Regions from separate parts of the Homo sapiens genome. Here region 1 is linked to region 2. Evidence: promoter capture Hi-C in human tissues and cell types (Jung and others, 2019). All regions are on one chromosome and are shown on one strand. The core of a region is centred on a gene start or on the middle of the fragment in contact, and the rest is flanking DNA. Distances in the headings are between cores, read along the strand shown. Region 1 overlaps SKAP1 (src kinase associated phosphoprotein 1). Region 2 holds the start of TTLL6 (tubulin tyrosine ligase like 6).

Region 1 (6,161 bases), core at 1,565-4,064, 530 kb after region 2:
GTATTTTTTCTTGGTATCTTAAAATATGTATTTTTTCTTTTTATTGTTGCTTATTGTGTTTATCTCATTTTAAATTAGCAAAACTCATGAAGGCATATTTATAAATAGTTGTAACTATGACTTTTAAAATCAGATTTTGAATCAGCCAGAAAAAAAGCGATGTGTTTTTGTTTTTTTGGTTTTTTTTACAAATGTTAGCACATCAGAATAGTTGTTAACATCAATGACTAAACGATTGACCAATGACAACATTAAGAAATGAGTGATCATGACAAATTCACCAAGTTACTTTCATGAAATGCTTCCAGAGGGCTGATTTTAAAATGTTTTAATTTTATCCCTGTTGGAAGTTTTCTTTTTTCTTTTCTTTCTTTCTTTCTTTTTTTTTTTTTTGAATAGGCTAAACTAATGATTTTCATTAGTGTATTTGTGATTTATGTGATTTTAGTAGGTTATACCAAGGTTAAATAATTTAAAGAAATAAACCCTTATCTGATATAAGATAGCTAATGAAGTATATTAGATACTTGCCCTATTGCTATATGAAGTGGATCTCCAAAGCTAACAACAGCTTTCTGCAGGAACACAAATCTCTATATAAATATCCAAATGTAGCAAGATGTTGCAAATTTTTAAAGATATGCCATAAAAATAGATTAACGCTAGTATGCAGTCCTGTTCAACTGAATTACAAAGGGATATCATGGGATTGCCAGTGACATTCACATAAATAAAAAATCAATTCTTAATGATGAGGCAGACTTGTTTTAGCGCATTACCCAGGTTAAATGAGAGCGCACAAAGACATCAACTCCTATAAGACTAGCGGAATCATTGTATATTAATATGATTTAGGGAGCTACACACCTCAATGGAATAATTGTTATTATATCTATAGAGCCAGATGGCACTTGGTGTAAACAGCCATTGAGCACCTCAAACACAAGTGTGGCAGGTGATCTTTAAGATGTTCTTGCATCCTGCTCACTCATCTTATCATTGGAATCTGCGTTACTGTTTGCAGAATGATTTGATTGCCAGTACGCAAATTTTTCAGAATGGTGCTGTTGTTCAATAGGAACCTAAGAATATAGAATGTCCTCAGCAAGAGAATAGATGAAGCAGAATAGATGAGGCAGCTGTCTGGATTTGTGTGGGTTAGCACTGAATTTTTTACAAGAAAGAGAACAGAGAGAGTAATTTTTTTTTCCAGCACCAGTGGCCCCAAAATTCAGAAATTTTAAAAATTAACTCTCAAATTTTCAGTGAAGTGGGCTTTAGTAATTACTATTTTCAAAGTAACCCCATGAAGGTGGTCAACAGGTATAAAAATTTGTGCTTGCAAAGTTAGAGAAATGCAAGTTCTGAGCAAAAGTTTATGATTTTGTTTTTGTTTTTGTTTTTGTTTAAGACAGGGTCTACTCTGTCACCCAGGCTGGAGTGCAGTGGTGCCATCATAACTCATTGCAGCCTCAAACCCCTCCTGCCTCAGCCTCCTGAGTAGCTGGGATTACAGGCGCATGCCACCACAGCCAGCTAATTTTTTGTCTTTTGAAACATTCTCACCATGTTGCCCAGGCTGGTCTCAAACTCCTGGCCTCAAGCGACCCTCCTGCCTTTGCCTCCCAAAGTGTTGAGATTACAGGTGTGAGTCACCACACCAGGTCAGAAGTGTCTTTAATTTTTTGTAAAATATTTTTCTTTTCTTTGAATATTTAAAATTGACTTCTGCTAACCCTAATTATCCAGTTACAGAAATCTCATTCATTTATTCAACAGATATTTACTGGGCACCTACTATGTGCCAGGTACTGTTCTAGGCACTGGAGATATGTCAGTGGAAAACCCTGCCTTCACATAGTTTGCATTCCTCAGGGGGCAATAAATGAAATGACATGATGTAATGTAAACTATGTGAGAAATAAAATAGGGAAGAGAGACAAAGTGTGCTAAGGTACAGTGTAAAGCTTAAGATTTGCCTTTCCTTCCTCAAGAACATAAAACAGATTATCCGGGAAGAATAAAAGAGGCTGGGGAAGTTCTTGTTTATCTTCTGACTTAATCGATCTTGTGAAATTCTAGTGCATTGTCTGATAACCCACCTGCTGTTATAGCCTCAGCTCAGCAGCCAGGGTTAAATAGTTGGAATGAGTGTTCAGTGTAAGCTTAGATTATTGGCTTGAATTAAATTTAATAATGTTACATAATTTTTTAATGGTTTTGTTTCTTTCCTCTGATAATAACATTAAAAAACATACCATCTTTAGTTACAAATAATTCTTGAATTGCCCCTTTCTCTACCTTGTAACCCATGTTTAGTTTCTAATCATCAAGGACATGAAACTGGCCTCATAGACGAATTGTTATCATAGTAGATTTAGTGGACTTTGATATCCAAACATATGAAACAGATTTTTCAAGTATCTAAAATAGAGAATGTGCCTCAAAATTTTGAGATCTTATAAATCCATCTGTCCCTTAATAATAAAATTCATACTAATTCTGAGAATATTTCCATCACCCACTTCAGGGTACTATTGACTGCTTAACTCCTGGATTTTAAACTAATGTTCAGTTCTTCAGCAGATGTAGTTTATTATATAACTGCAGCCACTCTTTAGGTGAAACATGGTACATGTTCTGAAATACTCCTTTAGTTTAGATGAAAAAATAAAATTCATTTTGTAATATGACGTAGTCTTCATTCAGGCTTACTTTTGATTAAATATTAATTTTTAAATATATATATATACTTATTGGTGCATAGATAAAAATACTGAAAGGATGTGTTCTAAAGTGTTAATAATGACTACAGATTACAACATAATAGGGCTAATATTTCTTTTTTCCTTGTACTTTTCTGTATTTTCATTTTTTTCTGTAATGAACTTGCATTCTTTTTGTAATCAAGAAAAAACACTCAGTATTATTTTATGAAAGCTAACAGAGCCTAAAAATTTATACTTCTGTTTAACACAACACCTCACAGCTGGCAAGTGAATGCAGATCAGTTTTTCAAATATCAGAAAGTAGTAGAAATCAGCAAACATTAATATTTAAATAATGCTGTGAAATTACTAATTTTACCTATTTCTATTTATTGTAGTTAAACAGTACAGTGCAAAATTTGATCAGTTTATCCCTTCTTTTATTTCCAAGATATCAAATTTTTTTTTAAAAAGTAGGCAGGAATTTTTTTAATGACATGCCAAATATACCAAATTTCATAAGGAAACATGTTTTTAATTTCAGGCCTTTGAATATGATATTACTCATAAGCATGAGTATTTATGAATATATAGGAAAAAGAGTCTTGAAAACTTTATTTCTTTTAGCAGTCAACAATATTTAGCCTATCAGAATGCTTGAATAGATAAACATTCCTACTGTTTTAATTTTGAATATAGATTGTCTTGTGCTGATGGGAAGTATTGTTAATTTTAATAAAATTAACTTTATATTGTTATTTCACCACTTTATAATAATTTTACATGGTGCCCTGGGGATGCCTCTGTTTTACATTATCAGGTGTCACATTTGCCATTTGGTTGGCATAGCAGCGTTCAGCTTCACTTCTCTGTTCAATTGCCTGAAGCCACACTATTCATGTTATATTACAAGTAGCTATTTTGCTATACACTGCACAAGTTTATATACTTTTATTTTATATGTATATATCATTCTTGTATTTTCTCAAAATCACTGTTTTGTGCTATTTCCCAGCATTTCTCTTGCTTGCCTTTAGGTAGACACGGTTATGATAACAAGTTGGCTAAGATTCCTAGCAGTCTGCCTCCAGTACTAAAATGTTTAAATTTCTTTTCTTTGCTTTGGTTTTTTTTGAGATGGTCTCACTTTGTCGCCCAGGCTGGAGTGCAGTGGCTCAGTCTCGGCTCACTGCAACCTCCATCTCCTGGGTTCAAGCGAGCCTTCTGCCTCAGCCTCCCGAGTAGCTGGGACTACAGGTGCACGCCACCATACCCGGCTAATTTTTGTGTTTTTAGTAGAGACGGGGTTTCACCATATTGGCCAGGATGGCCTTGAACTCCTGACCCCAGATGATCCACCCACGTTGGCCTCCCAAATTGCTGGGATTACAGGTGTGAGCCACTGCACCCAGCGTAAATTTATTTTCAATCTGGTAGTCAGCCACTATTTTGATAGATTCTTAGCCAGTGCTTCATTGTTTTTGATGAATTATAGCTTAAAAAACCCTTAAGATATAACTTCTTATAGAGAGAGAATTATTGCTATTTAAAAATAAGGGGAAATTATTGATGACTTTCATAACTCACTGTATGTCAGACAGATCACTGAGAGATAATTAATCAGAACACGCCTTCATTAAATGTTACCACTTGTCTTAAACTCTCCCATGAATTCATAGAAATCAGACTAGCAAATAATCAATTAGAGAATTCAATATTTGTCAAATTAAGTAACACTGTTACTAAATATACAGTAATTAAATTAAAGATATACCAAGTTCCTCTTGAGTCAGTCCATGTTTTTACCAATTTTTCTCTTTTTTAAAAAACACAAGTTTATGGCTTAGCTTTGAGCTCCATCTGCTTTGAATTCTGTTACGTGTTTTTATTATGATGCTATGTAAGACGTAAGAGAGTGCTAAGACATTTTGGTTAACTGTGTCAAATATTTACTGTGAACAATTCTAAATATACATTTTAAATAGGCTTTCTTTTCCACTTGCGTTTGTATATATGTGTTGATAAGCAAGCTGGTATATGAGACCTTATGTACAGCTGACGGGTATTTGACTGATAAGCTAATGAACTCTAGAGTCTGAGCAGCATTTAACTAACTGATAAATAATAGCAAGCAAACTAATCAATTTAACCCTGTTTTAGTACTTAATAGTCAGAGAGCAAATAAAAATTAGTACTGAGAAGTTTTTATAAAAGTATGCTTTATATTGGCATTTTTATTTTTCAGAAATGCCTCCTTTTTTTTCTTTCTTACCAAAAATTTCTGTGCCTAGTAGGAACTATGTTTCTGCTTTGAATTATACCATTATTCCGTGTTATTAGGAATCATATATCACTTCCTTTCACACCTTCGAGTTTAATATTTTGTGTACACTCTTTTAGTTAGAATCTTGGAACGATATATAATAGTTTTACCTTTGGTTCTACTAAAAAAAAATGTAATTACCCTGATATTCTCTTAAAGCCTAGGTTGCTTATTAGATATATTTTTCATTTTCTATTATTATTGTGAATTTTGTAGGTTTGAGGGATGTTGCTGACTATAGGTAATGAAAATGTCGAACCAGGTGGTAAGAGTCACTCCTGTGTTCTAGCTGTGGCACTGGCACAATTTGCCAAATAACTTTGATAAAGAAATTAAAATTATCTAGATGATTTTTATTTTATTTATTTATTTATTTATTTATTTATTTATTTATTTTTGAGACGGAGTCTTGCTCTGTCGCCCAGAGCTGGAGTGCAGTGACACGATCTTGGCTCACTGCAACCTCCACCTCCCGGGTTCAAGCAATTCTCCTGTCCCAGCCTCCCGAGTAGCTGGGATTACAGGCGTGCGCCAGCAAGCCCCGCCAATTTTTGTGTTATTAGTAGAGACAGGGTTTCACTATGTTGGCCAGGCTGGTCTCGACCTCCTGACCTCGTGATCCACCCGCCTTGGCCTCTCAAAGTGCTGGATTACAGGCATGAGCCACCGCGCCCAGCGAAAATTATCTAGATGATTAAGATGAGCAATATGAAGAGGAGTTATAAGAAAGTGGGGAAGCAACTAGTAAGCTGATTTCAAAGCCAAAAGAACTCTTGCTCTTGAGGAAGAAGTCGAGTGTGTGTGTGTTTGTTATGGGATGTTGTAGATGTTAATTTGCCTGTTGAATGCTTATATAACTTAGATCCACTCAGTAATTCCTAGTTGGTTGTTTGCCTCTGGCTGAATTCATAACCTTTATTTTTGCTTTTCTAGTTCAAATACCTAGAGATCCCACATATACTATTTGAAGTGTTACATATAGCAATTGCAATGGCAATATTATAGAAAATTGCAATTTTATAGAACATTGCTTTATAAAGGAAACTTGAAGTTAAGTTTGAGGAATTACATAATGAAATCTTCTGGGAGTATGTGGTTTAGGTATAATTACAAAAGTGAAAATATATAAT
Region 2 (5,732 bases), core at 2,964-5,463:
TGATCTTGGCTCACTGCAGCCTCCACCTCCCAGACTCAAGCAATCCTCCTCCCTTAGCCTCCAAGTAGCTGGGGCTCCAGGTGTGCACCACTACACCCAGCTGAGTTTTGTATTTTTAGTAGAGACGGGGTTTCTCCATATTGCCCAAGCTGGTCTTGAACTCCTGGACTCAAGCAATCTGCTCTCCTTGACCTCCCAAGTGCTGGGATTACAGGCATGAGCCACGGTGCCCAAATAATTTTTTTTTTTTGAGACGGAGTCTCACTCTGTCATCCAGCCTGGAGTGCAGTGGCAAGATCTTGGCTCACTGCCAACCTCTGCCTCCTGGGTTCAGGTGATTCTCCTGCCTCAGCTTCCTGAGTACCTGGGATTAACAGGTGCCTGCCACCATGCCAGGCTAATTTTTGTTTTTTTAGTAGAGACGAGGTTTCACCATGTTGGCCAAGCTGGTCTCAAACTCCTGACCTCAAGTAATCCGCCCCCCTCGGCCTCCCAAAGTGCTGGGATTACAGGCATGAGCCCCTGCGCCCAGCTAATCAGGGCACTGTCTATGGAACTTGTCTGAGGGCCATCTACACCAAGACAAGGATGCTTTAAAAACAGCCATGTTGTTTCCTTACAGGGCAAAAAGAAAAAAAAAACCCAACATCTATGAACAGGGAAGTTTGTTTTCCCAGAAAGTGGAGGAGGATGAAGAAGAAAGGCAAAATAAAAACAGAAACCTGCCTGTAATCCCAGCACTTTGGCATGCAGAGGCGGGCAGATCACCTGAAGTCAGCAGTTCGAGACCAGCCTGGCCTACGTGGCGAAACCCCCATCTTTACTAAAAATAAAAAAAAATTATCTGAGTGCAGTGGCTCACGCCTATAATTCTAGCACTTTGGGAGGCTGAGGTGGGTGGATCACCTGAGGTCAAGAGTTCAAAACCAGCCTGGCCAACATGGCGAAACCCCGTCTCTACTAAAAATACAAAAATTAGCCAGGCGTGATGGCAGGTGCCTGTAGTCCCAGCTACTCAGGAGGCTGAGGAGGCTGAGGCAGGAGAATCGTTTGAACCCGGGAGGCGGAGGTTGCAGTGAGCCGAGATTGTGCCACTGCACTCTAGCCTGGGTGACAGGGCGAGACTCCATCTCGAAAAAACAAAAACAAAAACAAAAAAACCCAGAAACCTGGGAGCTCCACTGCTCATGGGTGGGCAGTCCCCTGTCCAGGGGCTCTTTCAGCCCCATCAGATACAGTTACACATCAAAATGGAGAGGATTCAGAAGAGGTGCTTGGCAGCAGTTTCTATTGCTATTTCTATTTCACTAATATCAGAGCATGTGGAGGAAGGGGTAATGGACTCTATGACCCCACTGCAAGCCTTGAGCAAAGCCATCCCACTTTCCTGGGCCTCAGTTTCCTCATCTGAAAACAGGACAAATGCCATGGAGGTCTCTAAGAACTCTTCTGATTTAAAAGAAGCCCAATTCTGTGATTATATACACTTCTACAACATTCTCTCATGCATTGCAGACTTAAAGCAAAAAAAATCTGGGGTATGCAAAATTTTATCTAAGCATCCTTGCCTCATTCCCACTCCTTACATCATTCCTGGTACACATATCAAGACTTTATTTTGGCTGGGCACGGTGGCTAACACCTGTGATCCCAACATTTTGAGAGGCAACAAAACAAGATCCCGTCTCTACAAAATTGTTTTTTTAAAAAATTAGTCAGGCATGGTGGTAGGAGCCTGTAATCCTAGCTACTCAGGAGCGTTGCTTGAGCCCAGGAGTTTGAGGCTTCAATGAGTCATGACCGTGCCACTGTACTCCAGCCTGGACGACAGAGCAAGACTCCATCTCGAAAAAAACAAAATAAAATTATTTTGGCCGGGTGCAGTGGATCACGCCTGTAATCCCACCACTTTGGGATGCCGAGGTGGGCGGATCACGTGGTCAGGAGTTTGAGACCAGCCTGGCCAACATGGTGAAACCCGTCTCTACTAAAAATACAAAAATTAGCCGGGCATGGTGGCGGGTGTCTGTAATTCCAGCTACTTGGGAGGCTGAGGCAGGAGAATTGCTTGAACCCAGGAGGCAGAGATTGCAGTGAGCTGAGATCGCGCCACTGCACTCCAGCCTGGGCGACAGAGCAAGACTCCGTCTGAAAAAAAAAATATATTTTGACTGGCACAGGAAGAAAGGGCTTCTAGGAGGGACCTTGGTTCAGGGAGCAGAAGCAGGATCTCTGTTTGTTTCATTAACTACTTAAAGGAAGAACTCCAAACTGAGAAAAAACGCTGTGTGTGAAGTGCAGAGCAAACAACCTTACGGGGATTTTACTGTTGTTTTACTATTTATCTATTTAGTCAGGTGGGTGCCTTAGGAACAAAACAGCAGTGAAAACAACAGGGTTGGACCTGGATTTTTCCACACACTCTTGCCTCTGACAGCTTCTAGGACATGGTCCAAATTTTTTGACAATTAGGACCCTCCATCATTCTGCTTCAGTTTTTCATGCCCAGGCCGAGTAAGTCCCTCAGTGTTTACCTTGTGGATTTGTCTGTTTAGGGTTTGCCAGGCACAAATCACTGATATTCTCTGCTTTCCTGGCTGTCACTCGGGTTGAAGCTTGCTTTGCTCTACAGTGAGGGCAGCTCCACTGTTCACCGTGTTCACCCTGTGTTTGCTCCTGACATCAGCCCTGAAAGGACAGTAGTGCCAGGCTCTGGCCTATAAGCTCCCGTTGCAACATCTCATAAATAACCAGTTGTCAGGGATTTTAGTGGAAACTCTCTGAAAGCCGTAAATCTTTGCTGCTCTCTCCTGTATCCTCTCCCTCATTTCCATCACAATATCACTCCTGAGGGACCGGAGACCAAACAGGAGCTAGGCAGAGCAGATTGGTAGGACGCTGGGGAAAGACAACAGTGGGATGGGGGAGGGGACCAGGCTGGGACAGTTGGTCTTAGGGAAGCATCTGCTGGGTGACCAGTTAATGATGGTCACTTGGCCCCTTAGGGCCTGTCGGGGAGGGGCACCACAGCACGGGGCCACCTGCGGGGGGAAAAGGGAAGAGTGCTGACTGGATGGCAGAGAGGTTTCTGAAAGAGCAGCAGATGGGCCACTGGTTCCACTTTGGGCCTTCTGTTCACTCCGGGGTGACTGTAAGCACCACGTAGTAGGCTTCCAGGGTCGGCTTGAGGCTAAGCTACACCCTTGCCTCTGGTGTTCTGCCTGTGCACATCAGCAGGTGAAGGGGATCTGGGTTGGGAGGAACTTAGGTTACCAACTCAGGCCCAAATGAACAATGTTTATTTATTTATTTGAGACAGAGTTTCCCTCTGTTGCCCAGGCTGGAGTGCAGTGGCGCGATCTCAGCTTAATGCAACCTCTGCCTCCTGTGTTCAAGCGATCCTCCCGCCTCAGCCTCCCGATAGCTGGGACCACAGGTACGCGCACCGCGCTCGGTTAATTTTTGTATTTTTAGTAGAGAGGAGGTTTCGCCATGTTGTCCAGCTGGTGTTGAACTTCTGAGCTCAAGCGATCCACCCACCTAGGCCTCCCAAAGTGCTGGGATTACAGGCGTGAGCCACCGCGCCCGACCATCTTCAATGATTTGAATCCAGTCACTACTACAGATTCTCCACCTGAGACCAAATGGTTGCTCTGAGAAGCCCAGACCCCTAACCCCTTAAGTCTCACTGACTCTTCAGTCGGTCTAGGCGGCCCTCTCTTACTGATCAGTTCACTGGAGGCCATGACCCCCACACTCTGGAGGTGAGGTCAGGGTTCAATACGCCTGAGCGGTCATCACAGGTTTGCAACACCCATTTTCCTGTTGAAGAAGCTAAGCCTCACAGAGGTAACGTGGCCTGCCCAAGGTGACACAGGCACTAATATGCCTGAGATGCTGATTTAAGTCTCCAACCAGTGTTTTCCCACAGTGCCTCCTGCTTCAGGTTTGCCCTCTCCCGAAGGCCTAAATTCAAGGTGCCCCCCTCCCTCACCGCAGCCCCGCGCAGCTGGACCTCTGGAGCCAGACGTTCTGGCCGCGCCCGCGCACGGCGCCCGACGGCACCGGCGCGGATGGGCTGGGACTGCGGCTTGGCTCGCTGGGCAAGGGTAGGGCTGCGGGAGCGAGCGGCGGTCCAGCCCCTGGCGCCCGGGTGCGCGGTGCGCGCGTCCTCCGCGTCTCCCGGGACAACCGTGGGCGCGCCCCTCCCCTAGCGCCTGGGCGGTTAATTGGATTCGGGAGGGAGGGGGCATGGCAGCTACTGCAGGGGCCAATCGAAGGCCTAGAAGGCCCCGTATGCAAATATGAGGGCCGGGCGGACCCAAAGTTAGGGCGAGCGCGGGTTGGGGTTGGGGCTGTCTGGCAGCCAATGGGAGCGTTACTCCTTCATCCTTCGAGGAGGGGGCCGGCAGGTGTGGTTGCAAGCTGGACTAGCAGCCCAGCGGGGCGAGACGGGGGAGTAGGAATTGCGGGTAAGAGCGCCCCAAAGCCCGGTGCTGGCTCCAGACCGCAGCCTCCTGGTGCCTGTCCCCTGAAAACCTGGCTAGACACGTCTCCTTAAACCCACACGGGACCCAGGTCCCCAGGGTAGCCCGCTGCCCTCCCTGGTGGCGTTCCATGGCGCCAGGCACTCACCCTCACGGTCCCTCGGCTCCGGGACTCCCCCCTTCTCAGTCCCTCTTATTAACGTTCATTTCCCGCCCTCCCCCGATTTCCTAAACCACAGTCCACCAAGGAGCTGTCGCTTAGACACCAGCGATCCCTGGGACTCACACAACTCTCTTCATCCCCTTCATCCCCATCATTGGGTCATTTTCTTCATCACTGTTCTTCCTTTGTCTGGAGAAACCTTCCAGCAAGACACTTCCCATTTTTCATGGCCGGCATAGTCCTCTGCTGATGCCCCTACCGCCTTCCAGCCTGGTGTTCTTTCATTTCCAGTTGTTATTTCTCACCCCTCCTGAAAAAATACTCTTCTGGCTTTGCAGAAAGTTCTCCTTTGGGATTTGAACTCTAGGAAAAATATCACATTGGGGGATGAAGTGGGAAGGGAGCTAACGTTTTGAAAGCACCAGTATGTGCGAGGCACTCCAAAAAAATTTAATATTTATGCCAATCTTATTATTATATTTTCTTTTTTGTTTGTTTTAAGAGATGGAGGTGGGGGTGGGGGGGCTCACTTTTTTGCCCAGGCTGGTCTCGAACTCCTGAGCTCAAGTGATCCTCCCACTTGGGCTTCCCAAAGTGCTGGAATTACAGGCATGAGTCACCACGCCTGGTTTATATTTTCATTTTACAATATAGCCTTTATTTTGAACCAAGCACTGCTTTAAGGGTATTAGAAATATTAACTCATTTAATCTTTAAAACAGCTCCATAAAATGAATATTATTATCATCCCCATTTTACTTATACAGAAGCTGAGGTACAGAGAGGCTAAGTTACTCACCCATGGTCACACATTCTAGAAACTAGTAGAGCTGGGATTTGGATCCAGATCCATCTGTCTTTGTTAGCAATGCCCTGAATATTGTGGAGAAAATGACTAGGCATGAGCCTGATCTGAATATTGCATCTTCCAATCTTGCAGAATTTCTCAGTTTCTAGAAGAATAAAAGATGGCATCTAAGTCAGCAAGATTCTTATTGTTCCCACTACAGGTGACTTGTCATTCTCAACACTTCTTATTGGCAAAGCCCTTGAGCAATTGGGTGCCCCATCCCTCCCTTGTT

Evidence for each region. Contacts are between HindIII fragments. The study calls those that stand out against the background at their distance.
Region 1: a contact is called between a fragment that was not itself captured here and the fragment with the promoter of TTLL6 in region 2, in 1 of the 25 tissues and cell types used here (thymus).

The regions. Positions count from the first base shown.
Region 1 is chr17:48,286,365-48,292,525 of GRCh38, reverse strand. The region is part of intron 4 of SKAP1 (src kinase associated phosphoprotein 1); the gene reads left to right. Among named protein-coding and RNA genes, the nearest start is that of SKAP1-AS2, 4.9 kb to the left of the region's middle. The HindIII fragment of the contact is 3,810 bases long and covers 910-4,719 here.
Region 2 is chr17:48,815,710-48,821,441 of GRCh38, reverse strand. TTLL6 (tubulin tyrosine ligase like 6) reads left to right here and starts at 4,213. Exons shown (of 16, transcript NM_001130918.3): 1 at 4,213-4,472. The coding sequence starts at 4,370. It overlaps LOC105371813 (a long non-coding RNA gene), which reads right to left. Exons shown (of 4, transcript XR_001752926.1): 3 at 5,450-5,603; 4 at 4,484-5,013. RefSeq lists silencers at 4,018-4,367, 4,458-4,507. The HindIII fragment of the contact is 9,954 bases long and covers 1-5,732 here.